Linked DNA regions of Homo sapiens: all the other regions are linked to region 6. Evidence: promoter capture Hi-C in 16 types of primary human blood cells and fetal thymus (Javierre and others, 2016). All regions are on one chromosome and are shown on one strand. The core of a region is centred on a gene start or on the middle of the fragment in contact, and the rest is flanking DNA. Distances in the headings are between cores, read along the strand shown. Region 1 has its middle 8.4 kb from the start of MAN1A2. Region 2 overlaps TTF2 (transcription termination factor 2). Region 3 overlaps CD101-AS1 (CD101 antisense RNA 1). Region 4 overlaps TTF2 (transcription termination factor 2). Region 5 overlaps CD101 (CD101 molecule). Region 6 holds the start of GDAP2 (ganglioside induced differentiation associated protein 2).

Region 1 (4,718 bases), core at 86-2,585, 570 kb after region 6:
TAATTTATTCATCCATAAAATCAGGATAAAAATACACACCTCATAGGGTTGTTATGAGGATTAAACTCAATAATGTATGTGATAGTGCTTCCCCCCATAGTTGGGATTCAATAAGTATTAACTATTGTTTTTATTATAGGCATTAGAAAAAGTAAGAGTTGGTAGATAAAGAGAGGAAGGAAGAGCCTTTGAAAATACTTACAGGGACCAGGTGTGGTGGCTCACACCCGTAATCCCAGCTTTGGAAGCCTGGGAAATGTGGTGAGACCGTGTCTCTACAAAAAAATTTAAAAATTAGCTGGGCACGGTGGTGTGCGCCTGTAGTCCTAGCTGCTTAGGAAGCTGAGGTGGAGGATAGCTTGAGCCCAGGAGTTCAAGGTGTAATAGAGCAAGTCCTTGTCTCAAAAGATAAAAGAGAGGGAAGAGAAAGGAAGGGTAGGGGAGGAGGGAAGGGAAGGAAAGGAGGGAAAGGAAGAGAAGGAGGGAAGGGAAGGGAAGAAGGGAGGGGGGACAAGGAATAGAGGAAGGAGAAAGGGCATGGCATGTGTTAAGGGAAACTCGTCTCCCATAGCTTGAGCCCAGGAGTTCAAGGCTGCCATGAGCTATGATGGTACCACTGGACTCCAAACTGGCAAGAGCTTGTCTCCAAAGAAAGAGACAAAAGGGCCAGGTGCGGTGGCTCACACCTGTAATTCCGGCACTTTGAGAGGCCAAGGTGGGCAGATCACCTGAGGTCGGGAGTTCGAGACCAGCCTGACCAACATGGAGAAAACTCGTCTCTACTAAAAATACAAAATTAGCCGGGCGTGGTGGCACACGTCTGTAATCCCAGCTACTCAGGAGGCTGAGGCAGTAGAATCTCTTGAACCCGGGAGGCGGAGATTACAGTGAGCCAAGATTGCACCATTGCACTCCAGCCTGGGCAACAAGAGCAAAACTCTGTCTCAAAAAATAAAAATAAAAGAGACAGAGAGGGAAGGAAGAAAGGAGGGAGGGAGGAAGGAAGGAAGGAAAGAAAAAGACAAGACTTAGAGGAATGAGAAGGAGCATGTCCTGTGTGTTAAGGTGTTAAGGGAACCTCCTCTCCCTTGGCACCATGTTTCCATGGGAGGAGAGGGGAATTTCTACTGGAGTGCTAGTTCTGCTTTCTTATACCACTATTCTTCACACTCAGGAGTGCGTTACTTGATTGGTGAGTACTGTTACATTCATTAGCTCATAGTTCTTGACTGGATGGAACTAATCTAATAAATTCATTCTTTTTTTTCCCTTTCTGCCCTAGATCAGTGCAGACAATGATCTTAGATAAACATGTTTGGCAGCAGACCTAAACTTCCCCTTTAGTGGGCTGTTCCAAGGCTAGATTCTGTGGGGGTCGAGAGTCAGCAGAGAATGTTGGCAAGCCCTTTTGGGTTACAGATCTATAACCTAGTTTTATTAGCTTATCTGTAATGAAGCATAAGGGTAGATAGATATAATATAGATATCAATTTTTTTAAGTCTCTATATGACTTTCGTCTGTTGTCTTATTTCATCCAAAGTTGGGGGTTGGGAGACAGGCATGCAATTTATTGACCCTCTGGAAACTGAAAGTAGTTCATTATGGCTAGAACATAAATTGTAAGGTAGCGATGGTGAGAGGTGAAAATGGAGAAGTACACACAGAAATATGTCTACTCAACTTGGTGCAGTAACACCATGCTTTCATCTACTCCTTTTCCTCCACACACAGAGAAATGATGGCTAAAAAATAGAGAAAACCAAAAAGACATAACCAGGCTCAAGAACAAAATGATCATTTTCATGGATCTAAAGTGGAACCAAACAGAAAGCATTCAGCAAGCCTGGAGCTACAAGCTCACTGTGGTCTCAGGCTCAAAAGCCAAGATTATTGTCTCCTGCAAGGTGAAAGGAATTACAGATGGTTCAGTTGAGGGCAGGAGCCAGACTTAGTGCTTGAAGCCAGGAACTCCTGAAAGGAGGCTGCATATAAACCGCTGCCAACCCACTACCTGGTAAAGTAGAAGAACAAAGGCACAGCCTTGGAGTCAGGAACCAAGCCAAGCAGCTGGCCATGTGATTTGGCCTGTGGCATCACTAGGAATAGGAGCATCAAGATGCCAGCTTTAGATCTAATTCTAGAATAGAGGTCTGGGGAGACACATGGAGGCAAAATCACTAAGCATGGAGGTAAAATCACTAAGCATGGAGGTGAGCCCAGAAGGAGTGAGAAAAAGAAAATAAACTAAAACAAAACAGGAAAAAGCAAATAAAAACGTTCCCTCAAAATGAGCCTGACCACCAAGTTTCAATCACATAAAAATATCTAATACTATGAAAGCTAGCCAACAAAACGGACACTCAGAGCATGTATTTACTCCAGATAAAAATAATTCTATGGAACTATCTGGCAAATATTTTTAAATTAAATATTTTTGAATTTGATATGCAATAAATGGATGCATAGCACCCATTTTGAAAGGACAAGAAATTAAGGAACAGATACAGGCTGAATTAAAAAACAGGTAAATATGAGAAAGAACTAACAAAAATTTGAAAAATAAAAATATGGTCATTGAAATCAAAAGATATATGGAGCTAATCAAAGTCAAAGAGAAAAAGTAGTGAATTAAAGGGATGTACTAAAGAATTCAGCCAGAGCGGGAGGAGCCAAGATGGCCGAATAGGAACAGCTCCGGTCTACAGCTCCCAGCGTGAGTGACGCAGAAGACGGGTGATTTCTGCATTTCCATGTGACGTACCGGGTTCATCTCACTAGGGAGTGCCAGACAGTGGGTGCAGGACAGTGGGTGCCGCACACCGTGCGCCAGCCGAAGCAGGAGAGGCATTGCCTCACTCGGGAAGCTCAAGGGATCAGGGAGGTCCCTTTCCTGGTCAAGGAAAGGGGTGACAAACGGCACCTGGAAAATCGGGCCACTCCCACCCGAATACTGCGCTTTTCCAACGAGCTTAGGAAATGGCGCACCAGGAGAATATATTCCGCACCTGGCTCGGAGGGTCCTACGCCCACGGAGTCTCACTGATTGCTAGCACAGCAGTCTGAGATCAAACTGCAAGGCGGCAGCAAGGCTGGAGGAGGGGCGCCCGCCATTGCCCAGGCTTGCTTAGGTAAACACAGCAGCCAGGAAGCTTGAACTGGGTGGAGCCCACCACAGCTCAAGGAGGCCTGCCTGCCTCTGTAGGCTCCACCTCTGGGGGCAGGGCACAGACAAACAAAAAGACAGCAGTAACCTCTGCAGACTTAAATGTCCCTGTCTGACAGCTTTGAGGAGAGCAATGGTTCTCCCAGCACGCAGCTGGAGATCTGAGAACAGGCAGACTGCCTCCTCAAGTGGGTCCCTGACCCCTGACCCCTGACCCCCAAGCAGCCTAACTGGGAGGCACCCCCCAGTAGGGGCAGACTGACACCTCACAGGGCCAGGTACTCCTCTGAGACAAAACTTCCAGAGGAACGATTAGACAGCAGCATTCGCGGATCACGAAAATCCCCGATTCTGCAGACTCTGCTGCTGATACCCAAGCAAACAGGGTCTGGAGTGGACCTCTAGCAAACTCCAACAGACCTGCAGCTGAGGGTTCTGTCTGTTAGAAGGAAAACTAACAAACAGAACGGACATCCACACCAAAAACCCATCTGTACATCACCATCATCAAAGACCAAAAGTAGATAAAACCACAAAGATGGGGAAAAAACAGAGCAGAAAAACTGGAAACTCTAAAAAGCAGAGCGCCTCTCCTCCTCCAAAGGAACGCAGTTCCTCACCAGCAACAGAACAAAGCTGGATGGAGAATGACTTTGACGAGTTGAGAGAAGAAGGCTTCAGACGATCAAACTACTCCCAGCTACAGGAGGAAATTCAAACCAAAGGCAAAGAAGTTGAAAACTTTGAAAAAAATTTAGACGAATGGCTAACTGGAATAACCAATACAGAGAAGTGCTTAAAGGAGCTGATGGAGCTGAAAGCCAAGGCTCGAGAACTACGTGAAGAATGCAGAAGCCTCAGGAGCCAATGCAATCAACTGGAAGAAAGCGTATCAGTGATGGAAGATGAAATGAATGAAATGAAGTGAGAAGGGAAGTTTAGAGAAAAAAGAATAAAAAGAAACGAACAAAGCCTCCAAGAAATATGGGACTATGTGAAAAGACCAAATCTGCATCTGATTGGTGTACCTGAAAGTGACGGGGAGAATGGAACCAAGTTGGAAAACATTCTGCAGGATATTATCCAGGAGAACTTCCCCAATCTAGCAAGGCAGGCCAACATTCAGATTCAGGAAATACAGAGAATACCACAAAGATACTCCTCGAGAAGAGCAACTCCAAGACACATAATTGTCAGATTCACCAAAGCTGAAATGAAGGACAAAATGTTAAGGGCAGCCAGAGAGAAAGGTTGGGTTACCCACAAAGGGAAGCCCATCAGACTAACAGCGGATCTCTCAGCAGAAACTCTACAAGCCAGATGAGAGTGGGGGCCAATATTCAACATTCTTAAAGAAAAGAATTTTCAACCCAGAATTTCATATCCAGCCAAACTAAGCTTCATAAGTGAAGGAGAAATAAAATACTTTACAGACAAGCAAATGCTGAGAGATTTTATCACCACCAGGCCTGCCCTACAAGAGCTCCTGAAGGAAGCACTAAACATGGAAAGGCACAACCGGTACCAGCCGCTGCAAAATCATGCCAAAATGTA
Region 2 (4,319 bases), core at 1,768-4,267, 830 kb after region 6:
ATGAATATAGTCTTGCTCCAAAGCAGAACAAAAGCGAGACAAACATGAAAATAAACAATAATATGACCTGGTAAGTGCTATAATGGAAGTATGTGCCGTGTGCAAAAGGAGGAGAAGGAAATGTGTCCAGGGTAGTCAGGGAGGGCCCCATTAAACAGTTAACTCTTAATATGAGACTTGTATGTTGGGCAAGGGTTTGCCAGAAAGAGCAGTGAGGAGAGCACCCCAGGGAATGGGAACACGTGCAAAACCATGGCTGAGTTTCAGAGCATGGTGTATTGGAGGAAGTTCACATTGACCATGTTGTCCACAATGGCAAAAGCTCAAGAGGCTGGTAGGGCCAGATCACGGGTGGTGGTGCATGTCATGCTAAGACATTTTGATTTGATCCTATAGGAGGTGAGAGCTACTGAAGAATATGAGAAGTGGATGACACAATCAGATGGATTAGCTAGGAAGAGCCCTTCGGTGGTGATGGAGAGAACAGGATTCAGCAGAGTGGGAAGGGGGGACCTGGCAGTGGGCATGGGAAGGAAGAAATGGTTATCAGAAACATTTAGAAAATATAACTAAAGGACTTGGTAAGTGGAAAAGCGAGAAAGGTAGGAGTCTAGTTCTGGCTAGATAATTAGATAAAGAGTGATACTATTCACAAAGACAATGACTACAGAAGAATAGCAGATTTGAGATAATAGGAAGAGAAAATCAATTTCTATTTGTAACATTTGAGTACCTGAAACATGTAATTATACTTGCTACATAGTGGGTGCTCAAAAGGTATGTTTTATGGGCTGAATGCTCAAAAGAACAATGAATAAAAGAAGGAATAACAGATGAGTATGTGGACACTCGGATTCAGATATTTAGCAGGGACTGCGATAGGTCTGAAGTTTAGGAGACCTTGGAACTAAAGATACAAATTTTGGACTTACTGGAGTGCACAGAATTTGTGAAGGAAGGAATGTACAGAATGAGCAGAGAAGAGAGCATAGGAAGACTATCATAATCACTATATTTAGCAAAGTCTGGAAGTCATTGGTGCCCCTTAACAAGAGCAATTTCAGTGCAGCAACAGGAGTAAAAGCCAGTTTGTAAAGGCTGAGGAATGAATGGGAAGTAATCAAGTAAAGATAGGCAGTGATTCCTAATTCTTCAGGAAACCTGGTCATGAAAAGGAAGGCAAAAAAGAGGGCCATTGTGAGAGGGGATTGGCAGCATTAAGGCAGGTTTTGTTGTTTTTAAAGACAAGGGGGTCCAAAACAGAGGACATTTTGCAAAATAACTGGCTCATGCTCATCAAAATGTCAATGTCATAAAACACAAAGACTGGGTACTGTTCCAGATCAAAGGAGACAAACTTATGAAAACTGCGTGCTACCAGGATCTGGGATTCTTTTTTGCTGTGAAGGACATCACTGAGACAAGTGAGATTGAAAAGATCTGTAGATCAGATAATAGTGTTTTATTAATTTTAATAACCTGATTTTGATGATTTTATTGGGGTTACGTAAGAGAATTCCCTTAATTTTAAGAAATGTACACTTAAGTACTTAGGGACAAAGGAGCATCAGGTCTACAACTTGTTCTCAAGTGGTCCAGAAAAATGTTTCTACCCACATGCACACCATAATATATGGGAACTTTTTGGTACTATTCTTGTACGTTTTCTGTATGTCTGAAATTATGTCAAAATAAAAGTTAAAAAGAAAAATAAAAGATAGGAGCATCCTTTCATGGACTGCCCTCACCATATACACAAATTTGCTCTTCTTTTGCAGTGACCAACTTCAAGCTTACCCCAAATTGCTCGTTTTTCTCCTGACTGTGGTTTGCCTGAAGGTATGCCTCAGGGGCATCATCAGTAAAGTCATCACCAAATACTTTAAATTCTATGAAAACACTACCTAAGAAAGAAAGACTTTCACAAAGTACAAGTTGAGAAGGGTCCTGGGTCCTGGGGACCATTACTTACCTGTGTATGACAACATCTTTCTGCTGCCCTACTCGGTAAATTCGGTCACAAGCTTGATCTTCAAGTGATGGATTCCTGTTAGAAGACAGCTAAAGCTCAAAGGAACTGACATACTAGATCAGAAATGGCAAACTATGGGCCATGGGCCAAATCCAGCCCACAGCTTGTTTTTGTAGCTAAAAATTATTGTTACAGTTTTAAAGGGATTTAAGAAAAGAAAGCAAAGCAAAACAAAACACACACATCATGTGACAGAGAACTATGTGGCCTGAAAAGCCTCAAAGAAAAAAAATCTGTCGATCCCTGTCCTAAGCTATACTGGCCTAAGACAAGCTGGTGCCAGATACCTTCTTGCCTAGTTTCTAGTGAGAAACTAGGGTCAGACTGTTAATAATAGCTCTTAGCACTATCATCAGTTGACAACTCTTAAGTAACAGAGGTGAAACCAAAACTCAGGTCTGGTCTCTAGGTAGCTAGATGTCCTTGGGCAAGTTATTTAACCTCAGTCCTCTAGGCTTCAGATTGCTACTTGGAAATTGAAGGGCCAGCTAATGATCTTGACTAGCTGCCTTTTTCAACTTGAATATTCTGTGATTCGATTAAGGAGACTTAATTTGTTTCCTTCTTTATTGATTCCCATTGTAACTCCAAATTAGTTTCTCATCTTACCTCTTTAAAATCTTGGATAACATTTCTCTATCTCTGAAAAAAAAAAAAAAGCATGATTCCTAGTATGCTTTCCTCACTCACGTGTACAGAGGAGTCCCAAGTAAGAACTAAACCCGTTCTCCTGGAAGATGATAACAGGTTGACCTATTTGTACCCATCTGGGCTGTCTGGAGAATTGGACCAATGACAATCCCCAGCAGCAATCCTTGATTGGCATAACTGGAAAACCAGAAACTGGTACTCATTATGAGATTTTCTGTTAGCAACACACTAACTCATTCATTCTGTAGCCACGAAAGATGTGGTTGTACTCCTGGTATTAACACTACATACAATGAATCCAAGGGTGAGGTATTAAGTGTATTTCTAACATAATTAGAAAATCCCTATTCCTTTTCTTTTTGGAGTAATGCTTCTCCCTCTTTTCAAAGGTTGAAATTTCCTTGGACCCCAACAAGTGTGTCTGGAATACAGTATTCTGGAGAAGAGGTAAAACTGAGCAAGGTTAACTCTTAGCCATGAGGAAAAGCTATGCTCCCCGTTTCCATGGAAACAGATGTTAGACTAACAATAACGTGAATGAACTATTTTGAGTAGTCATTTGAAGGCTTGCTAGCTCAGGAATTCAGGGGAGTCAGCTAGCCCTATACCCTGCTTAGATCTGTATCTATAGACACATACAAAGCAAGGCATCTCTGCAATACGAACACAGCAATCAACATAAGAAGTCAGTTCTTGCTGCCCCTGTAGCCCACTGGCCTCCTTGATGTGCTGTGACAACCCAGGACAAATCCGGAATCATTACCAGTGCATGTCCAAAAGAAAGAGGTGATTTCCTCCAGTCAGGTTTAGACCAACACCTCCGGCCAAGAGAGAGATTAGCATTACCTTCAAAAGGAAACACAACATTAACTTTAAACAGACTTGGTCTCGTAACACATCTCGGTCTCAGGTTTAAGTCCACAATCAATACAGATAAGCACTGTGTTCCTATCAAATTTCCTTCTGCTGTTATAAATTGTTTTTTTTTTTAACATTATAATGCTATCTCCCATGTCTCACTTTTGAGAAAATTCTCACATCACATTTTGTGTGTGTGTGAGTCAACCTCAAAAAATTAACTGAGTGCTTGCCAAAATATATAAATACTGTAATTTAGAACCCTGGGGATGGTCAGCTCAATAAACTTTCAATTAACCAGATTATGTTTATTTCATCAGTCCCTACCCCTCCATTGCTACAATAATTCTCCTGCCTATCATTCTACTAATGCTTTCCAAATCTTTATTATCTATAATTAGATGCCTGTGTTCTTTCATTTCCTTCCATATTTCCTCATACCAAAACCCCACCTATCCTTCAAAGCTTGCCTCCTCTGCAAAGATTCCCCTCAACCTAACCAGCTCTGCTGTTAATCTCCTTTTAGTCCTCATATTTGATTCTTTTTAGAATATTTGTGCTCTTTAAAAGTATCCCAATACATGTCTAATAAATTCTAAACACTCGGAGGAATCAAGGCTGTAAATATTTTTAAGTTGCCATATCAGAATTCTCTTTATATGGCTGGGCACGGTGGCTTACGCCTGTAACCCCAGCACTTTGGGAGGCCAAGGCAGGTGGATCACCTGAGGTCAGGAGTTCAAGACCAGCCTGGCCAACATGGTGAAACCTCATCTCT
Region 3 (4,729 bases), core at 1,261-3,760, 870 kb after region 6:
TGAGCCCAAGGAGGTCGAGGCTTCTGTGAGCCATGATTGAACCACTGTGCTTCTGCCTGGATGACAGAGTGAGCCCCTGTCTCAAAAATAAAATATAATTCTGGGGTAGCACAGACACTCATTTTATTTTTATTTATTTTTCTTTTCTTTTTTGAGATAGTGTCGTGCTTTGTCACCCAGACTGGAGTACGGTGGTGTAATCATAGCTCACTCTAGCCTCAACCTTTCAAGCTCAAGCAATCCTCCCACCTCAGCCTCTGGAGTAGCTGGGACCACAGGTTTGTGCCACCACACCTAACTAATTTTTTGATTTTTTTTTTTTTTTTTTTTTTTTTTGTAGAGAGGAGGTCTTGCTGTGTTTCCCAGGCTGGTCTCAAACTACTAGGCCCAAGCAGTCTTCCTGCCTCAGCCTCCCAAAGTGCTGAAATTACAGGTGTGAGCCAACACACCCAGGAACAAGTCCAACCCCACAAAAGTGGAGCTTAATTCCTAGGAAAATGAAAGAATTATACTTTCTGTGGTCAGCATTGTGCTGGCTGGCATACATTAAACATGTCAGACCTCCATAAGATACCAGTGGTGAGAGGATGAGCTAGAACATTCACCTTTTGACATCTCGGTCACTACCTTATTGTTTTAAAATAATCAGCAATTCCAAGTTTCAAGTGATTTGTAAAATTCTAGCGGCTATGCTTTATTGATTATTTTTTAAATTAAATTGTTCAAATTTATGTTTCAAATGAGCAGATCATTCTAAGAATCATATTTACTTTTCTGAACTTCTGGTGTTTTTGCTTGTTGCTTTGGGATAGGATGGGAAGGAGTAATTTTAATTGGCAGATAAAAGATTGTTCCCTATTAGGCACATTCTGAGAGGGAAAGTCATATTCTAACTTTTCCTGAGGTGTGTTCTGAGATAGTACTTTTATATGCATTGTCACATTTAATTGTCACAACTAGCCTAGGGATGGGATTTTTTATCCCCATTTTTAAGATGAAGATACTAAAGTTTAGAGCAGTTAAGGAGGTGGCCCCAAGGCCAACTTACCTTACAGAGCTGCTCCTAAAACTTTGGAACCGGATAGTCCCCATGGATTAATTTTGACCTGGCTCAAAGTCACAAAGCTGACAGCAGCCAATCAGGGACTAAAGGCCATTTTTCAGAACTTTCAATCCAGTTCTTGCCACTATAGTATTTTTTCTTCTTCTTCTTCTTCTTTTTTTTTTTGAGACGGAGTCTCGCTCTGTCGCCCAGGCTGGAGTGCAGTGGCGTGATCTCGGCTCACTGCAACCTCCACTTCCCAGGTTTAAGCAATTCTCCTGCCTCAGCCTCCCAAGTAGCTGGGATTACAGGCACCCACCACCACGCCCAGCAATTTTGTGTATTTTTAGTAGAGATGGGGTTTCGCCATGTTGGCCAGGCTGGTCTCGAACTCCTGAGACCTCAGGTGATCCACCTGCCTCGGCCTCCCAAAGTGCTGGGATTACAGGCCTGAGCCACTGCGCCCAGCCTATAGTATTTTTATAAAGCATAAATTATTCAGCAATGCATTCAGATATTTAACCCACACATCGGTAAGTGTTTAGGTATTTGCTGTGGTGTAGAGACATGGCTCAACAAATCCAAGACAAAAACCAAAAACCCAAGTCCTGCCATTTTATAAATGACCACTAGGTAGCAGCCTAGTAACATAAAAACCAAACTGAGGCCCACCCTCCTCTGTTTCATTCTTTTTGTTTGAAGATATATAATGGTAATTCAATTTCATTTCATTTCATTTTGTGCCTTTCAAACATATGACTGTTTTCAACTTGTCCTTTGACATAGGCTCGATCAGGATGATACTATAGTGAGAACAAATGTGGTTATAATTTGTAAAGCCAAGAGACTTTACAAATTATTTTGTTATACCAATATTTTTTCAGTACTAGATTCCAAATTTCACTGTTCTTAAAATATTATTCCAAAAGTGGTTCAATGCAGGCTCTTTATCTTCTTCTTTTTTTTTTTTTTTTTTTTTGGTAAATGTACAGGTATTTTTTTCAGTTGGAGTCTTGTCTGTTACCCAGGCTGGAGTGGAGTGCAATGGTAGGATCTTGGCTCACTGCAACCTCCGCCTCCTGGGTTCAAGTGATTCTCCTGCCTCAGCCTCCTGAGTAGCTGGGATTATAGGCTTGTGCCACCACGCTCAGCTAATTTTTGTATTTTTAGTAGAGATGGGGTTTCACCATGTTGTCCAGGCTGGTCTTGAACTCCTGAACTCAGGTGATCCACTCGCCTCGACCCCCCAAAGTGCTGGGATTACAGGCTTGAGCCATCGCGCCCGGCCACAATTCTTTTTTTTTTTTTTTTGAGACAGAGTCTCACTCTGTTGCCAGGCTGGAGTACAGTGGCATGATCTTGGCTCACTGTAACCTCTGCCTCCTGGGTTCAAGTGACTCTCCTGCCTCAGCCTCCCGAGTAGCTGGGATTACAGGTGCCCGCCACCACGCCTGGCCAATTTTTGTATTTTTAGTAGAGATGGGGTTTCACCCTGTTGGCCAGGCTGGTCTCGAACTCCTGAACTCAGGTGATCCACCCGCCTCGGCCTCCCAAAGTGCTGGGATTACAGGCATGAGCCATCACACCTGGCCCACAATTCATTGTTTAAGTAAATTTATAAAGTTGTGCCATCACCACCAGAATCCAGTTTTAAAACATTTCTATCACTCAAAAACTTTCCTCAAAGCTGTGTGCAGTCAATCCCAACTGCCACCCCCAGCTAGTCCCAAGGCAACCTCTGATATGCTTTCTGTCTTTATAAGTTTGCCTTTTCTGGACATTTCATATAATGGAGTCATGTAATATGTAGTCTCTTGCCTCTGTCTTCTTTCACTTACATAATGCTTGTGAGGTTTACCCATGTTGCACATGTATCAGTATTTCACTCCTTTTTATTGCTGAGTAATATTCCATTGTGTTCATTCACCAGTTGGTGGACATTTGGATCATTTTCCCTTTGGAATTATTAGGAATAATATTGCTATGAACATTAATGTTAAAGTCTGTTTTATTGTTTTTGTTTTTGTTTTTTTGTTTTTTGTTGTTGTTGTTTTTGAGATGGAGTCTTGCTCTGTCACCCAAGCTGGAGTGCAGTGGCATGATCTTGGCTCACTGCAACCTCCAGCTCCCAGGTTCAAGCAATTCTCCTGCCTCAGCCTCCCGAGTAGCTGGGATTATAGGCTCGAGCCACCACGTAAGCTAATTTTTATATTTTTAGTAGGGACAGGGTTTCACCATGTTGGCCAAGCTGGTCTCAAACTCCTGACCTCAGGTAATCTATCTGCCTCAGCCTCCCTAAGTACTGGGATTACAGGCATGAGCCACCGCACCCGGCCTAACGTTAAAGTCTTTATATGAACATTTGTTCTCATTTCTCTTGGGCAGATAAACCTGTGAGTGGAATTGCTAGTTCATATGGTTAGTTTGTTTAACTTTTTAAGAAATTGCCAAACCACTTTCCAAAGTGGCTATACCATTTTATATTTCCACCAGCAACGTATGAGGGTTCCCAGTTCTTCATGTCCTCAACAATGCTTGTTATTGCGTGCCTTTTTTAGTAGGTATGAAGTGGTATCTGACTTTTGTTTGAATTTTGATTTTTCTATTGATGTGGCACTCTTTTTCGTGTGCTTTTTAGCCATCATCTTCCTCTTTTTAAATGGTCTTGAAAGTCTTTTTCCTTTAACGTTTGTATGGAACTTAAACCTAAGTTAAAATGACATTAATTGTTATTAATACAAAGACATAAAAAGACATAGTAATCATTTGTATAATGTTAAGTAACAAACATTATACAATGTACTATGTACTATGAGTATAGTCATGTCAATTTGTTTTTTTTTTTTTTTTTGGAGACAGGGTCTCACTCAGCCCCTCAGGCTGGAAGTGGTGCAGTCTCAGCTCACTGCAGCCTTGTTCTCCCAGGCTCCAGTGATCTTCCCATTCCAGCCTCCCGAGTAACTGGGACTACCAGAGCACACCACCACAGCTGGCTAATTTTTGTATTTTTTGTAGAGACAGGGTTTCACCATGTTGCCCAGGCTGGTCTCAAACTCCTGAGCTCAAGCAGTCTGCCGCGTTGGCCTCCCAAAGGGCTGGGATCATGTGTACACCATCACACCTGGCATCAAAACTATTAACTTTCAAGACTATATGCTGTATGATTCCATTTATATACCTCTGGGAGGTTGGGTTGGGAGATTGGTGCAGTTTTTATTTTCTACAACTAGCATGTATTGCTCTGTTACGATTTTTAAAATCCAATAAAGATATTGAAAGCAGTCACATAGAAAACAATAACAAAGAGGATGTACCAAAATAATAATAACAATGCTTATTTAAGATGGTAGGATTATTGGTGTTTTTTTCTTTTTTTCTCCCATTGTTTTATATGGCATATAATGTTATTATACTGTCAGCAGTAGAGCAGTCATAGGCCCCACGTCTCTGTACCTTCATCAGAACACCTCTTAAACTTGCCTAGTTCTCATCTTAGCTATTCAATCCTAACTTTCCTCTAATTAATCCTTTCTTTCTTATTCATGTCCTCCTACCCATTTTTTTGGTATCTAATTCAAGTTTTATACCAAGCTGTTTTTTCCCTCTTCCCCCTAACCCTATACCAGTTATTCTGCTTAATTCTAACCTTCTCCTCAACCCTCACTGCTCATTTGTTCCCTAAAACCT
Region 4 (4,741 bases), core at 210-2,709, 850 kb after region 6:
AGAGATGGGGTTTCACCATGTTGGCCAGGCTAGTCTTGAGCTCCTGGCCTCAAGTGATCTGCCTGCCTCGGCCTCCGAAAGTGCTGGGATTATAGGTGTGAGCCACTATGCCCAGCTCTCTGCTTTTAACCAAGACCTCTGACCCTATTTTCAGCAGCCATTACATTGGCTTTTCATTATTTCCTCATTATCTCTTAAATTTGCCTCTCCTTTCTGCAGCCAATGTCCCAGTCTGCACTACTGGTCATAAATTTCAATAGCCCTTTGACCAGAGTCCCCCTTCTAGTCTTCTGTACTCCAGTTTATCTTGTACTCTGTTAAGAAAAACTAATCTTCATCAGTCATCCCTGCTTAAATGCTACAGCGATTCCATACTATCTCTTGAGTTATTCAGATCTAATCCTTCATCAATGCCAGGCTCCTACTCAGTAACATCACCTGCTACTGCTGGCTCAGGTACTGATGACAGCTGATCACCACTTCTGAATACCAATCTCTTTATCTTCCCACTAGTCACCACTCCCTCTAATTGCAGCGTTTTATTCCTTTCCTCTCTGCTATCTAAAGGCTTTCAACCTTTAAGGCACAAAGTAGGCAGACAACAAATAATCACTGACCTAGAGTGATGTTTCCTTTATTCTGAATCCCTTTTGTACTTTATAGTATATTACAAGGCACCCCTTATTTCTGCCTTAAAGCCTTTGCTAATTGTTTTATTTACATTGTATATGTATTTTCACCCCAACTAGTTCATTACAAGCAACAATTCCTTCACATTCTTGTGGCACCTACCAACTCAACAAATGGATCCTTTACTGCTACAGAAATAAGTAACTTTATGACTTTTTAAAAAAGGGGTTTTGTTGTTATTGTTTGCACTGTTAAGCATAAAAGGAGAGGATGCTGCAAGGGAAGCCATTTAAGCATCTGTCTGTAGGAAAGGTATCTCAGAAAGTCTCTCTGCCAGCAGTTTCATGGGGCTGCTGGAGCACTGTCATAGAGGACTACACCAGGAGTCTTCCCTGGCTCACCTTCAGCCCGGCGGGATCTTCTGCCACAACCGTCTCACCAGGACATGACTCAAGTGAGCGATGCAGTTGACCGATGGCTTCACTTGTGATTTTCCACACTGCATGAACGTGATCTTGGTTTGTATGGCCTGCATACAAATAGGTGTTACCTAAAAGATGTCACAAGTATGTTTTCTTTATCCCTTTAGAGTGAACTTAGCTACAAATGGCCCTGTATCTGTTTCTTACCCTCCTTGTTAACTACTCTCCTCAACTTTCCATGTCTCTAGCAGTTCTCAGTTGGGAAACAAGTGGCTTTTGCTTTTCTGGTCACTGCCAGCCAACCCAATCTCCAAGCTCCTATCTCCTGATCAGTCTCCTGTCAACTGATCCTATTACACATTTCAGGCTCCACTTGGAATCTTCATTCTGCAGTTACCTCTGAATTCAAAGTTGCCTAGAAAGTTCAGGAAGGAAACACTTAGCTAATAGGGTGTTATTGCTCTCTGTGGATCTATTAGTCATCAGTCTTGACTCATGTCTCTCCTCAGTCTTACACACACTTACACACACACGAAAGAATAAGAGCATATCTGCAGGTCTGCCTACCTCATAATGATGCGAGCTAGAGTTTTCATCCACAAATGCTGACTGGATGACTCCTATGTGCCAGCCACTGAGCTGACTAATCAGCATACAGTGGTGAACAAGGTAGACACAGTCTGTGCCCTCACAGAAAGCTAAGTAACACGATGCAAAGCTCTACTGAGCTGCACAATCTTTATTATATGGGCAACTTCTGACTTAAGAATGGCTTCTCCCCTCATGTGGGCACAAAGACATCTACGGTAGTCCCTCCTTATCCACAGGGCGTATGTTGCAAGACCCCCAGTGGATGCTTGAAACTGGATGGTACTGAACCCTACACATACTATGTTTTGGCTTTTTTTTTTCCCCATACGTACATACCTATTTTAAACTTTAATACATTAGGGACAGAAAGCATTTAACAATAATAATAAAATAGAAGAATTATAAGAATATACTGTAATAAAAGTTATGTGAATGTGGTTTCTGTCTCTTTCTCTCTCAAAATATCTTACTGTACTGTACTCACCTTTTTTTGAACCACAGGTGACTAAGGTTAACTGAAAGTGTGGATAAGAGGTGACTACTGTACCGGGTGGCACGTAACTCACAGGGGTGGCTATTCACAGCAGGGTCAGGCCCTTGGGTCTTACCTCGATAGCACTGACTGGATCCTCCAGCAGTCACCTGGCAGGCAGACTTTAGTTCTAGAGAACCCACAGGTTGGGTACCACGACGAGGAAGGGGTTGGGGAGGCACCAGGTGGGGAGGGCCAGTGGTAGTTTTGGTGAAGTGACTCTGCTGTGGTACTTGACTGTTACTCTTCTCATTAGTTCCTGCTCAGAAAACAAGGGAAGAGCAGATTAAAGTTCAGCAAACTAAGTGAAGGGACCATATGTGTGGAGGTGAGGTCAAGAGAGAGGGATCATCACCATTCCGATGAAGGATTCCTAGAGAAGGTAGCATTTTAACAGTTGCTTAAACAATGGGGAAGAAAGTAGAGTCCACAGGAAACAGGAGAAAGTTTTTTATGAACCATAGGTGTAATGTGAAAGAAGTCTCAGAAGCAGATAATAAAATGGAAAAGTGAATGAATCAACACATTCTTTATTAAAAGGGCTTCCCGAATGTCTCTTGTAAAGTCGATGCAAACCCGGAGTTCTGAGGCATAAGCCACTTTACCTTGCTCTGGGGAAAGGGTAAGACCACTGAGTACTTCCTCCAGCTCCTGGATTTGTTTGATCAACTTCTGACCCTTGTCTGGAAGAGCCTGGATGTTCACTGATGCCAGTGTGCTCTGAAAAACAGATTCCATCAAATGGATCTCTCCTCTCACACTGTTAGATGAATAGTTTCAGATTAAAATAGCCTGAAACACCCAAACTCTGAAATTATGGTCTTTTAAATATGTGTGCAAAAACCAGAACCTTTTTTAAATTTTAACCCAGCTGGCTTACCAATCTTGAAAATATAAATAGGGGAAAAGGCAGAAACTGAACATGCACCTATAAAACCTTCACATGAACATATTTAACCCTTCTGTAGCAATGAGATCTCATATCTGCCCATAACAAGCAATGCTCTGACCTCAGAAACAAAACACGAGTCAATAGTTACCTTCTTTTGTTTCAGTTGTGTTGTAAGGTAGACACGCCGGGCTACTGGGTCTGAGGGTTCTACCTTCTTGGAAACACCTGAGGCAGGAGACACCTTTCTTTGCACACTTCGATCAGGGAATTGGAGGTTTTCCTTCGTCTCTAAGTCCAGAGTCGAGTCAAAGAGTAGGGGGCTCCCAGGCTTAGAGGAAACAAAAACAACATCATCTTCCTCCTCGTCGTCACTGCTTGTGGCAGCTTCACGGCCCTCACCCAGGGAAAGCCCTGGTGCTGCTGGTGCAGCCTGAGCCGCTGGTCCTCCAGGAGCAGGCACACTGTGGGTCTCCGGCCGCTCTTGGAAATGCCCCTGAGGCAGGCTTTTCTGGGTGGCCTGTATGCTAGGGCCATCCTTTGCCTTTGTTTCTTTAGCCTCCCAGTTCGTGTACTCCTTGTTGAGGGGTCCCCCTTTCTGGGGCTTGCTTATTGAGTTGTGACTGTGAACATTTTGAGGCAAAAGCTGGGTAACCTTTTCTCTCAGAGGTTCTGATTCTCTTTGGACATCTTGACTCTTACCACTTGATTTCTCCTGAGAAGATGCAGATGGTCTTGTAAGCTCATTACCTTGGCACTGTTGAGATTTAATTTCAGAAAAGTCTCTTTTGTGTGTGCCTCCAGTCTCTGCCTCACACTGAATCTCTGCTCCCTCTTCTTGCTTCTTCTCTTGAACTACAGATTGTTTTTTCTTTGGTACCAGGCCAGATGAGAGGTCTTTCTCCATCATTTCAGGCTTCTGTTCTTTCTTTTGATCGAAAAGCTGATCTCCCTTTTCTCTTTGCTTCTTATCAGCCTTCTTTTCCTCACCTTCACCTTTGATGAGCTGTTTCCAGAGAGCTGGTTCTTGATTCTTGTCAAGTACCTTGAATGGATTTCTCAGCCAGTTGGAAGAATGATGAAATGTCTCAGATGCATGCTGAGACTTATTGGATACAGAATGTTCTTTGGAATCAGGATCCTAAAGACAAAATAATTAATCTTCATATAAAATATTAATACAAACTTCGTATCTAGAATGCCTTTCCTTTTCATCTCAACTTTTATTTTATATACAGGGGGTACATATGCAGCTTTGTTATATGAGTATATTGCACTCAGGCAGTGAGCATAGTGCCCAATAGATAGTTTCTTAACCCATGCCCTCCTCCCCTCTCCAGTAGTTCACAGTATCTATTGTTCCCATGTTTATGGGTGCTCAATGTTTAGCTCCTGCTCGTGAGAACATATGATATTTGGTTTTCTGTTCCTGCATTAATTCACTTAGGATTATTCTGCAGAAGAAATGGAAACACAGTAAAAGCAGTCCAATATTTCCTGAACATTCTTGGTACCATTTCCACGTCTAGAAAAGATGACGTGCCAAACCCACAAAGGACTCATTTCTTCACGATACTTTCGAAGCTTGGTTCCTTCTCTGTCCATGATCACTCTTTTCCAGGCCTCAAGGAAAAGTAGTGACAAACCAAAGTGCTTTTACAATCACAATGGCCACAG
Region 5 (4,347 bases), core at 1,097-3,596, 920 kb after region 6:
GGATGAAATGAAAATAATTCTAAGGGATAGGAGGGAACTACAAAAAAGGGCAAAAGCACAGAAAAGGTAAGTGGTCACCTGATGCAGTCAAGTGCATATATTTCATATATGTATGTTCAGTCTAAAACTGGGAAACCAACCAATGCCCAACCAACTAGTCAGCCAACCACACACATTTCTAGTAATAATTTTTTTTTTTTTGACACGGTCTTGCTCTGTCACCCAGGCTGGAGTGTTGTGGTGCAATCTTGGCTCACTGCAACCTCTGCCTCCCAGGTTCAAGTGATTCTCTTGCCTCAGCCTCCTGAGTAGCTAGGATTACAGGCATGGGCCACCACGCCTGGATAAGTTTTATATTTTTAGTAGAGACGGGGTTTCACCATGTTGGCCAGGCTGGTCTCGAACTCCTGACCTCAAGTGATCTGCTTGCCTCAGCCTCCCAAAGTGCTGGAATTACAGGTGTGAGCCACTGCGCTCAGCCTCTATAATAATTTAGAATACACTAATTTATTCATAAGTCCAAATTAATGTGACATATTTATATCATGCTTTTTTTGTAATAAGAATCTAGGAATACAAGTTAGACCACCTTAGAAAAATGTAAATTATTACTTACCAACAAGTTATACTACAGTGGCAGTTTAAGACACTTTTCAGTAATGTCGTCTTAGAGAAATGTGTGCACCAAGCTATGTGTGAAAGAATATGCACAGCTACACTGCTCATTAAAGCTTCAAACAAGAGACAACCCATATGTCCATCAACAGTAGGCTGGATAAACTGTGGTACAGTCATAAAGTGGAATGTTATATAGAAACAAAAATCAACAATTACAACTATTTGCAATAACATGAATGACTATGTTCAAAGCAAGATACAAAAACACTTCTGAATCCTTGTGACTATATACAGAATGATCGTACTGTTTATAAAGTTTAAAAACAGGTGAAACCACACTGTATTATTTAGTGATGCACACATAAAGGGCTGAAATCATTAGCAAAAAGGCAGGAAATGACCAGGCGAGGTGGCTCATGCCTGTAATCCTAGCTCTTTGGGAGGCCAAGGTGGGCAGATCACTTGAGGGCAGGAGTTTAAGACCAGCCTGGCCAACATGGTGAAACCCTGTCTCTACTAAAAATACAAAATTAGCCAGGCATGGTGGCAAGGTGCCTGTAATCCTAGCTATTCCAGAGGCTGAGGCAAGAAAATCGCTTGAACTCAGGAGGCAGAGGTTGCAGTGAGCCGAGATTGCGTCACTGTACTCCAGCCCGGGCAACTCCATCTCAAAAAGAAAAAAAAAAAAGCAAACTAGGAAGTGGTTATCATGAAAGTCAGGAAAGTGATTGCATGGTGTTTGTGATCTGATGGGGCACACTGCGGGCTGGGTGGGTGCTTCTAGGGTCTTGGCGATATTCTATTTCTTGACCTGGGTAGACATTATACAGATTTTACTTTGTGCTTATTTGTTAAACTGAAAATTTGTTTAACAAATTTTAAATTTATTTTAAAATTATTTTAAACAAATAATAAAAATTTTCTTATGTTGTATTTCACAATAAAAATATTTTCTTAATGTGGCTTTTGAGGTACCACTAACCCACATATATCAAGGCATGTTTCTACAAACAATGTTATTTTTGGTGGCTAGGCAACACTTCTCGAACGTTTCCCATCACTTTTCAGCAAGATGGGTACCACGTTTGAAAATTTTTATTGTGAAAACACGCACTTCTTTTTCTACTGCTTTATTTGCCAATTCAATAAATATTTATTCAACCACTTATAGTATTTCTCATGCTTGAGGGACTAAGATATGAAGATGAATTTAGGCTAGATTCTGACTTCTGGATTTCATAATCCAATCAAGTGGATAGTAGTCACCTCTCTATGGAAAACATATAATAAAAGTGCTTCAAAAATTTTGAAGAGGGACTACATTTTGAGGGGAGGGAAATAGGTTTATGGAGATGGCATAAGAGATGGCATTAGAAATGGATTTTGGAGAATTGGGAAGATTATGACAAGGTAAGTGGGGAGACAGAGCATTTTAGGTGAAGGAGATTTCATGGCAAGACTCTGAGTAGGAATCAAAAGACTTACTCAAAATTAAAGAGTAATCAACTGGATGGGGGAGGGCTGCATAAAGATTAATAGAAAGAGGTAAAACTGGACAGCAATTTTTGGGTCCAGAGCAGAAAGGACTTGACTATCACATTTAAAAGTTTGGACTTGATTCATTGGCAATGGGGAATCCACTGAAAGTGTTTAGGAGGTTTTAGGAAAATGAACCTCACAGTTTGTGTGCAGAATGATGGAAGTTAGAAATAGACAATCAGGTAATTGTAGGAGCTCAGGACAGAGGTGACAAAAGCAATAGGGATAAAAGTAAAGGTACTATAACTGAGCTACTGTGGAGACAAAATCTGTAGTTTTCAGTGCGTTGGATGCTTGGGAGTAGCAGGGTTAAATGGCGAGATGAGAGGTAGGAAGAAATCAAAGATCATAGGTTTGATAAGGCTGCCTGGGAGAATATTGATACTCTGACTAGAAATACAGATATTAGGAAGAGTTACTGTTGTGTGTATAAGGGTGAGTGAAAATATAATGCATTTAATTTTAGAAATACTAAATTTGAAGACCATGGAATAGACAGGAAGGATATCCAGCAAACATTTTGAAATATTTAAATATAGATATTTATATTTACATATAAATTATACATATTTTCAAAGGGTTAAATAGACTTTAACCCTTTGAAAATATTTGTAATCGAATCCTTTCAAAAACCCTGTGATATTCCCATATTTAGTTATGTAAAAACTCCTAGGATTTGAGCCAGACTTGAACATATTAATAGATCTGCAAATGCCAAATCCATGGCTGTCCCCATTGTTTCTTGTTGGCTCCTGTAAATGTCTGTTTGTAACTAGGGAGAGTTCTGAACTGTTAGATGTAGATTAGGTCAGTTACATACAAGTGTTGGGAAGTATTGGGGAACAGAAGGAAGAGGACTAAGGAGAGATTACTAGGGAATTTCTCTCTTTAGGGGATGGGATAAGGAACAAAACTTACAGAGGGAAGAGTTAGATGGAGGGCAACTAGGACACAGCGGCTGGAAATCAAGGGAAGAACATTCTAAGAGGAAAGGGCTTGTCAGCACTGCCAAAGGCTGCCAAGAGGTTGGGGACTCTGAAGGCAGAGGAGACTCCTGTTAGCTCGATGAGGAGGATGTCCATGAAGATCTTTGTAAAAGGGATTTCAATAGAGTGGAAGCAGCAGTTTTCAGGGTAAGAAGTGACTGCAGGAAGTGGAACCTACTTCCAGGAGTTTCATGGAGAAGGAAAAATGAAGATTAGGATGGCAGCTAGAAAGAGTAGCTAGGTGAGGAGCGGTAGGAAGGGGTGGGATGGAGAATGGGTGAAGCCAGCAAGGAGGATGAATGAAGTAATGTCCTAGTAGAGGGATGACAGGGAGGGTGCTGTGTTATAGTCTCAACGTCTGTGTCTTCCTAAAACTCACACGCAGAAACCTAATTTCCAAGGTGATGGTATTAGGAGATGGGGCATTTAGGAAGCAATTAGGTCATGAGGGCTGTGCTCTCATGAATGGGATTAATGCCCTTGTAAAAGAGTCCAGGAAGCTCGCTAGCCCCTTCTGCCACGTGAGGACACAGTTAGAAGGTGCTATGAGGAACAGGCCCTCACTGACACCAAACTGCCAGTGCCTTGATCTTAGACTTCCCAGCCTCCAAAACTAAATTTCTGTTGTTTATAAGCCCCCCTCCCCCACCCGCCCCAGTTTATGGTACTTTTGCTACAACACGCCAAACAGTCTAAGACATACTACTTTCTGAGAAAAGTGAAAGAAATAGTGTGGAGATTTCAAAGGTATTTTTCAGGTAGAAGGCATGACTGGCAGAGATCAACTCAAATGGCTATGCACTGGGGCCATAAGCTTAAGCATCTTACTATAAATATATTCTCTCTGGGTTTTTTCAAGTACATATCATCCACCCTCCGAAAAACACCTGTGAGGACTGCCCTCTTGCTCTCTCTTTTAATGGGTAGAGGGTTAGCTACTTTTGAATAGTAGCTCATATTCTTGTTGGCTGATGAGTACAAAGCTTGGCACTGACATACTAACATTAGAATCATGCTTTCAAAACACCAAAAATTCCTCGATGGTATTGACTTTCTTTAAAAATATCACTGGAATTGTCAAATTTACCACTGCAGTATTATTTGAATGAAAACGATTAGGTTGAACTGTATAAAATGGTCCATACTTGAGCACTTTTTATACCAAAAAAACAGCAGTTTCAAATAATGCTACCTTATACAAAAC
Region 6 (4,461 bases), core at 1,186-3,685:
TAAAACACACAAAAATAAAGAAGTTACAGTCTTTTATGAGGAGCTGTTTCTTTTTGCTATTGTTTTTTGTTTCTTTGGTTGGTTGGCTTAACTCTACAGGGTCTTTCTAATTATCAAATGCTGTTTTAGTCTAACACAAAAAAAATTCAATCTCAACTCTCTGATAATATTTTCTGGTAATAATCACTTACTGGCCTCATTGCTTCTCTCACAGGAACCAACATAAAGCCAATTTAAAATCAAGGAAAGATAATATTAACATGGTGATAATGCTCTTAGCCTAGGCCATTTGATTAATTCTTTCCCAATTCCTCTTATTCCTCCAGACTCTGTAGTTGTTCCTTATGTTTGTCTGTCTTTGGCCATCTACCACCTCCTTCTACAGTGTTTTCCTTGGAGAATTCATATAGCATGCCTAGGTCCAGGGACTCCCATCTGTCTATTTCCAGTCCTTTCCACCTACATGAATACTAATTATAGAGTTTCCAATATTTACTGAACATCTCCACTTGAATACCTTATAGTTTCACATTTAACATGTCTATAACCAAGCCTACCTTACTTCTGGTACCCCTCTCTTTTCTTCTGACACTAAGACACAATTTTCCCAGCTCTTCAGGCTCAAAACCATTTAATAACCTTTGAATTATTAATAAAAAAATATTATTATAGCAGCCAAGATTTAGAGAGTGCTTACGCTATAGTAACTGATAACATTATGCAATTGTTTAATTACATACAGCAATTAATGAAACCGAGCTAACATATGCAAAGCACTTAGAAAAGCCTCTAGCACATTGTAAATATGAGCATAAAAAAATTATCCATAAGGACCTGGTATGGTGGCTCATGCCTGTAATGCCAGCACTTTGGGAGGCCAAGGCCTAGGAGTCAAGAGTTTCAGACCAACATAGGCAACACAGCAAGAACCTATCTCTACAAAACATTTTTTAAAAAATTAACCAGGCATGGTGACGCACTCGGGGAGGCTGAGGCAGAAAGATCACTTGAGTCCAGAAGTTCGAGGTTGCAGTGAGCTATGATCACGCCACTGCACTCCAGCCTGGGTGACAGTGAGACTCTGTCTCTAAAAATAAATAAACAAATTCTCCACAATAACACCACAAGGGAAGTCACTCTTCCTATCTCTATTTTACAGACAAGGAACTCAGACCCAGAGATGGCAAATTGCTAACTCAAAGTCATTTAGCAGCTAATTGCCAAAGCCAGATCCCAATCCAGCCAGTCTAACTCCAAAATTTCTGCTTTTAACCACTATGCTAAACTGCTTCTCTTTGCCTCTTTCTCTTTAGTCAATTCCACCTGACTGTTACTCTGAAACAGGATCCCTTTCTCTCCAGCACTTTCAGTTCCAGCTCTTTATCACTGGATTACTGCACTGATTTTCCACCTAGCACCTCCGCCTCCATGTTTTTCACTCTTTTCATTTAAACGTCATAATACTACCGACTAATCTTTTCAAATGAGCTTTCCCTATCCTAAAGCCTTGAAAAGGCTAAATCGTTTGCCAGTTTCCAAAAACTCATCCTATCTAACCCCCGTATTTCTCGAATAAACCTTCCTGTCAGGCTGGCTAGTTTCCTTCCTCGTCCCGCGACCTTGTATTCTTCATATTATTCGTTTTACTTAGAATAACATCCATGTTCTCCTCTACTTCTTTTAACTAATATTATCTTCTGAGGCCCACTTCCTTTCGAGTAAGCCCAATTCTAGCAGCCTTTTTTCATCGCCTCGATATTTAAACTACCTCCCATACAACTTGCACTGTTCACTTTGTTCCACGTGCACAGCTTTCGCCTCCTTTCTGACAGTTCACGACCAAACCTTCTTCCGAGACCCCATGATCTCCGCTTCCTAACCTACAGCCCCCAAAACGATGTTTCCAAGATGCACTGAAGGCCTGGACCGTGGCAACAGACCTGCCACACATTCCTAAACGAGTCTTCGGTCAGGGGAGGGTGACGGAGGGTTCCACACACCGAACACACGGTCATATCATCCTCAGGCCAGCCCGTGCACACGCACGGTCAGGCAGCTCTGCTCAGCACCCGCAACCGCGCCGAGTAGCTGAGGGGCTTCCAAGTACTGCTGTGGGGACGCCCGTAGTTACCTGAGTTCCCCCAGCCCTAGCAACCGGCCTTTAACACGCCCGTCTCGGCTGCTGCTGACATCACGAACGCCTCAGCCAGAATCTGCAAAATCGGAGCCGCAGATAATGCTCTCCGCCCCAACCACGCACCTCCAGGACTCACCTCAGCCTCCACGAGGCTCCCAGCCGATTGGACCCGCCCACAAGACCTGCCCCTTCCGGGTCCGTTCCGGAAGCCTCTTCCGCCAGAGGTTCCCTTTGCCTTCTAGGAGGAAATGACGGAGAAAGCCGGGCGCTGATTGGTGAGCTCTGGCCAGGAGCGGAAGCCGGTGTTTCGCAGCCCAGAGCATTTGCAGCTGGTCACTCCAGTCTCCTGGGACTTTGACTCGCCGTACTCGGCGCGCTCCTGCTGAGGGTCGCCGGAGATGTCGCTCGGCCGCCTTCTACCAGGAGCCTGATCCGTGCCGCCCGCCGCCCGGATGGGACCACCAGAGTGCTGTGAGAGGAGGGACTGAGGCCGGGAGGGAAGGCGGGGCGGAGAGGGCCGGGGGCGCGGTCCGAGGCGCTCGGGACTCGGCCCTGGTCAGGATTGCAGGCTGAGGGTTAGTTCTGTCACTTCTCTTGAAGAACGAGCCTGGCGCCACTTCCTCGCATGTTGGTTAGGTTCTTTCCCGAGGCGTTGTCGGGGACGCCGTCTCTACGAGAAGTGAAAGGGTGGGCAGTCGGCGGGCACTAGGAACAGTGGTGCTGTAGCCAAGGAGGCGGGCGCCCTAGGGTGCAGGTGAAATGGGGCAGGCGGGAGCTCTTGCTGGTTGTAGTCCCAAAGACAAGTCCGTGTTGCCGTTCCTGTGGACTGGACATTCTACGGAACCGAGAGCACCTCGGGTGAGGGGTGGGTAGACGCTGAGCCCAGGATGGTGCGTTGTCTAGGTTCCCGCAATCCCTGGAGTGACACTGGCCTGGCTTTGTGTTTCCGCTCTCTGGCCGCTTGAGGGGGAAGTGACCAAGGCTGACTCCTCCTTGTTTGCTCACTGAGACTTAAGTGCTCTTTCACCAAGTGGGAATTAGCTTTTCTCTCTTGCATTTCTGCTACTTTTATTCTTGAGCTGCATAGAAGTGTTTAGAAATGAGTTCTGATGTCTAGAGCTGTGCAAAATTAAAGCTAACATAGCTGTACAAAAGAAGATCCTGCCGGCGCTTCTTGAACAAGGTATCTGCAGCCAGCCTAGAAATTAGACTTTTGTCTACATTATCTGATTTTCTTTAGAGTTTCCTGAGCTTAATGCATGTTCAGCTAATCTTCCATATTCAAGAAAATTGCAATAGCAAAGAATGCGTATGATGAGACTGTGGACAGCTGTAGCAGCATAGGAGTTTTGAAACAAGATTGCTGTGTATTGGATAAATGAGAAGGGAAGAAATTGTGGCCACAAACTATTATTTTAATAAGCTTGGTGGGAAAGGGAGCATTTGAGTGGGTATGTATGGTTAATATCCCTGACAGGTGCTGTGCATTATATTATTATGGGGAGAAGTGTGTGCTTCAATGGAAAACTACATAGTTTAGATTCTATCTTAACACCCCTTGGAATAACTAATTCTAAAAAAGCTATTTTTCAGTTACGTAAACTAGGTAAGTGACATCAATGCTAAATAATTATTGTCAAGACATGCGAATTCTCTCAGAGATTCAGTGGAAGTTTTGCCTCCTTTTGCACATTTATTTCAATATTCCTGCTCTAAGGTGTCTAATTCTGGGATTTTCTTTATCTTCTCTGCCTGGTTCCATTTTGAGTTAAATAAAATCTTGAACACGGGTTTGGTTTTATATTTGAATGAGTCATGATTTTACCTTTTCTTAAAAAACTATCTTAATATTATTAAATATTATGGGATGGGACAACCACAGATGGAAAAAAATGATTTTAATAAGAGTTGGTATCAGAGCAACTGTGAGTGGTAAGGTAATGCATCTTACAAAATTCCTTATACAATGTTTCAAGGATGTAACTCTACTTCCTTATTTAAGTTTCAAAATGCCTAATATATCAATATTTACAATTAAAACATAGTGCAGTTCATTTAATATGAAGGGGTACTACTAATTTACTGTTAGGATATGTTCTTTGGGTGCTTTTGAATTATGATGTTAAATTTGACCCAAGCCATTGACAAGCTTAGGAATGTTCTTGTTATACTGTATTTATTGTTGACATATTTGACTACTTCAGTTAGTCTTCCAATCTGAAAATCTTTTTTAAAAAATGTCTTTCTGATGGCATAAAATGATTCTTAAGTATGGTGTTGGATGGTGGCATAAAATGATTCTTAAGTATGGTATGCACACATAT

What was found. Contacts are between HindIII fragments. The CHiCAGO score rates a contact against its expected background, and 5 or more counts as called.
Region 1: a fragment that was not itself captured here is called in contact with the fragment with the promoter of GDAP2 in region 6 in 2 of 17 cell types (naive B cells and fetal thymus); the score reaches 5.5 in naive B cells.
Region 2: a contact is called between a fragment that was not itself captured here and the fragment with the promoter of GDAP2 in region 6, in 1 of 17 cell types (erythroblasts). The highest score is 5.3, in erythroblasts.
Region 3: a fragment that was not itself captured here is called in contact with the fragment with the promoter of GDAP2 in region 6 in 5 of 17 cell types (total B cells, neutrophils, naive B cells and 2 more); the score reaches 15.7 in total B cells.
Region 4: a contact is called between a fragment that was not itself captured here and the fragment with the promoter of GDAP2 in region 6, in 1 of 17 cell types (total B cells). The highest score is 5.6, in total B cells.
Region 5: a contact is called between a fragment that was not itself captured here and the fragment with the promoter of GDAP2 in region 6, in 1 of 17 cell types (neutrophils). The highest score is 5.4, in neutrophils.

Annotation. Positions count from the first base shown.
Region 1 is chr1:117,356,669-117,361,386 of GRCh38, reverse strand. No RefSeq gene overlaps it. Among named protein-coding and RNA genes, the nearest start is that of MAN1A2, 8.4 kb to the left of the region's middle. RefSeq lists an enhancer at 2,949-3,590. The HindIII fragment of the contact is 3,634 bases long and covers 1-3,152 here.
Region 2 is chr1:117,096,561-117,100,879 of GRCh38, reverse strand. TTF2 (transcription termination factor 2) reads right to left here. Exons shown (of 23, transcript NM_003594.4): 21 at 3,447-3,529; 22 at 1,973-2,047. Among named protein-coding and RNA genes, the nearest start is that of MIR942, 4.1 kb to the right of the region's middle. The HindIII fragment of the contact is 1,982 bases long and covers 2,027-4,008 here.
Region 3 is chr1:117,052,476-117,057,204 of GRCh38, reverse strand. The region is part of intron 1 of CD101-AS1 (CD101 antisense RNA 1); the gene reads left to right. Among named protein-coding and RNA genes, the nearest start is that of CD101-AS1, 4.6 kb to the left of the region's middle. The HindIII fragment of the contact is 6,290 bases long and covers 1-4,729 here.
Region 4 is chr1:117,074,334-117,079,074 of GRCh38, reverse strand. TTF2 (transcription termination factor 2) reads right to left here. Exons shown (of 23, transcript NM_003594.4): 5 at 3,216-4,205; 6 at 2,781-2,895; 7 at 2,252-2,434; 8 at 1,032-1,159. Among named protein-coding and RNA genes, the nearest start is that of TTF2, 16 kb to the right of the region's middle. RefSeq lists an enhancer at 997-2,196. The HindIII fragment of the contact is 6,383 bases long and covers 1-4,650 here.
Region 5 is chr1:117,004,317-117,008,663 of GRCh38, reverse strand. All of the region lies in intron 1 of CD101 (CD101 molecule), which reads right to left. Among named protein-coding and RNA genes, the nearest start is that of CD101, 4.7 kb to the right of the region's middle. The HindIII fragment of the contact is 3,226 bases long and covers 734-3,959 here.
Region 6 is chr1:117,927,595-117,932,055 of GRCh38, reverse strand. It overlaps GDAP2 (ganglioside induced differentiation associated protein 2), which reads left to right and starts at 2,435. Exons shown (of 14, transcript NM_017686.4): 1 at 2,435-2,608. It overlaps WDR3 (WD repeat domain 3), which reads right to left and starts at 2,317. Exons shown (of 27, transcript NM_006784.3): 1 at 2,274-2,317. RefSeq lists enhancers at 2,165-2,334, 2,216-2,510. The HindIII fragment of the contact is 4,170 bases long and covers 1-3,562 here.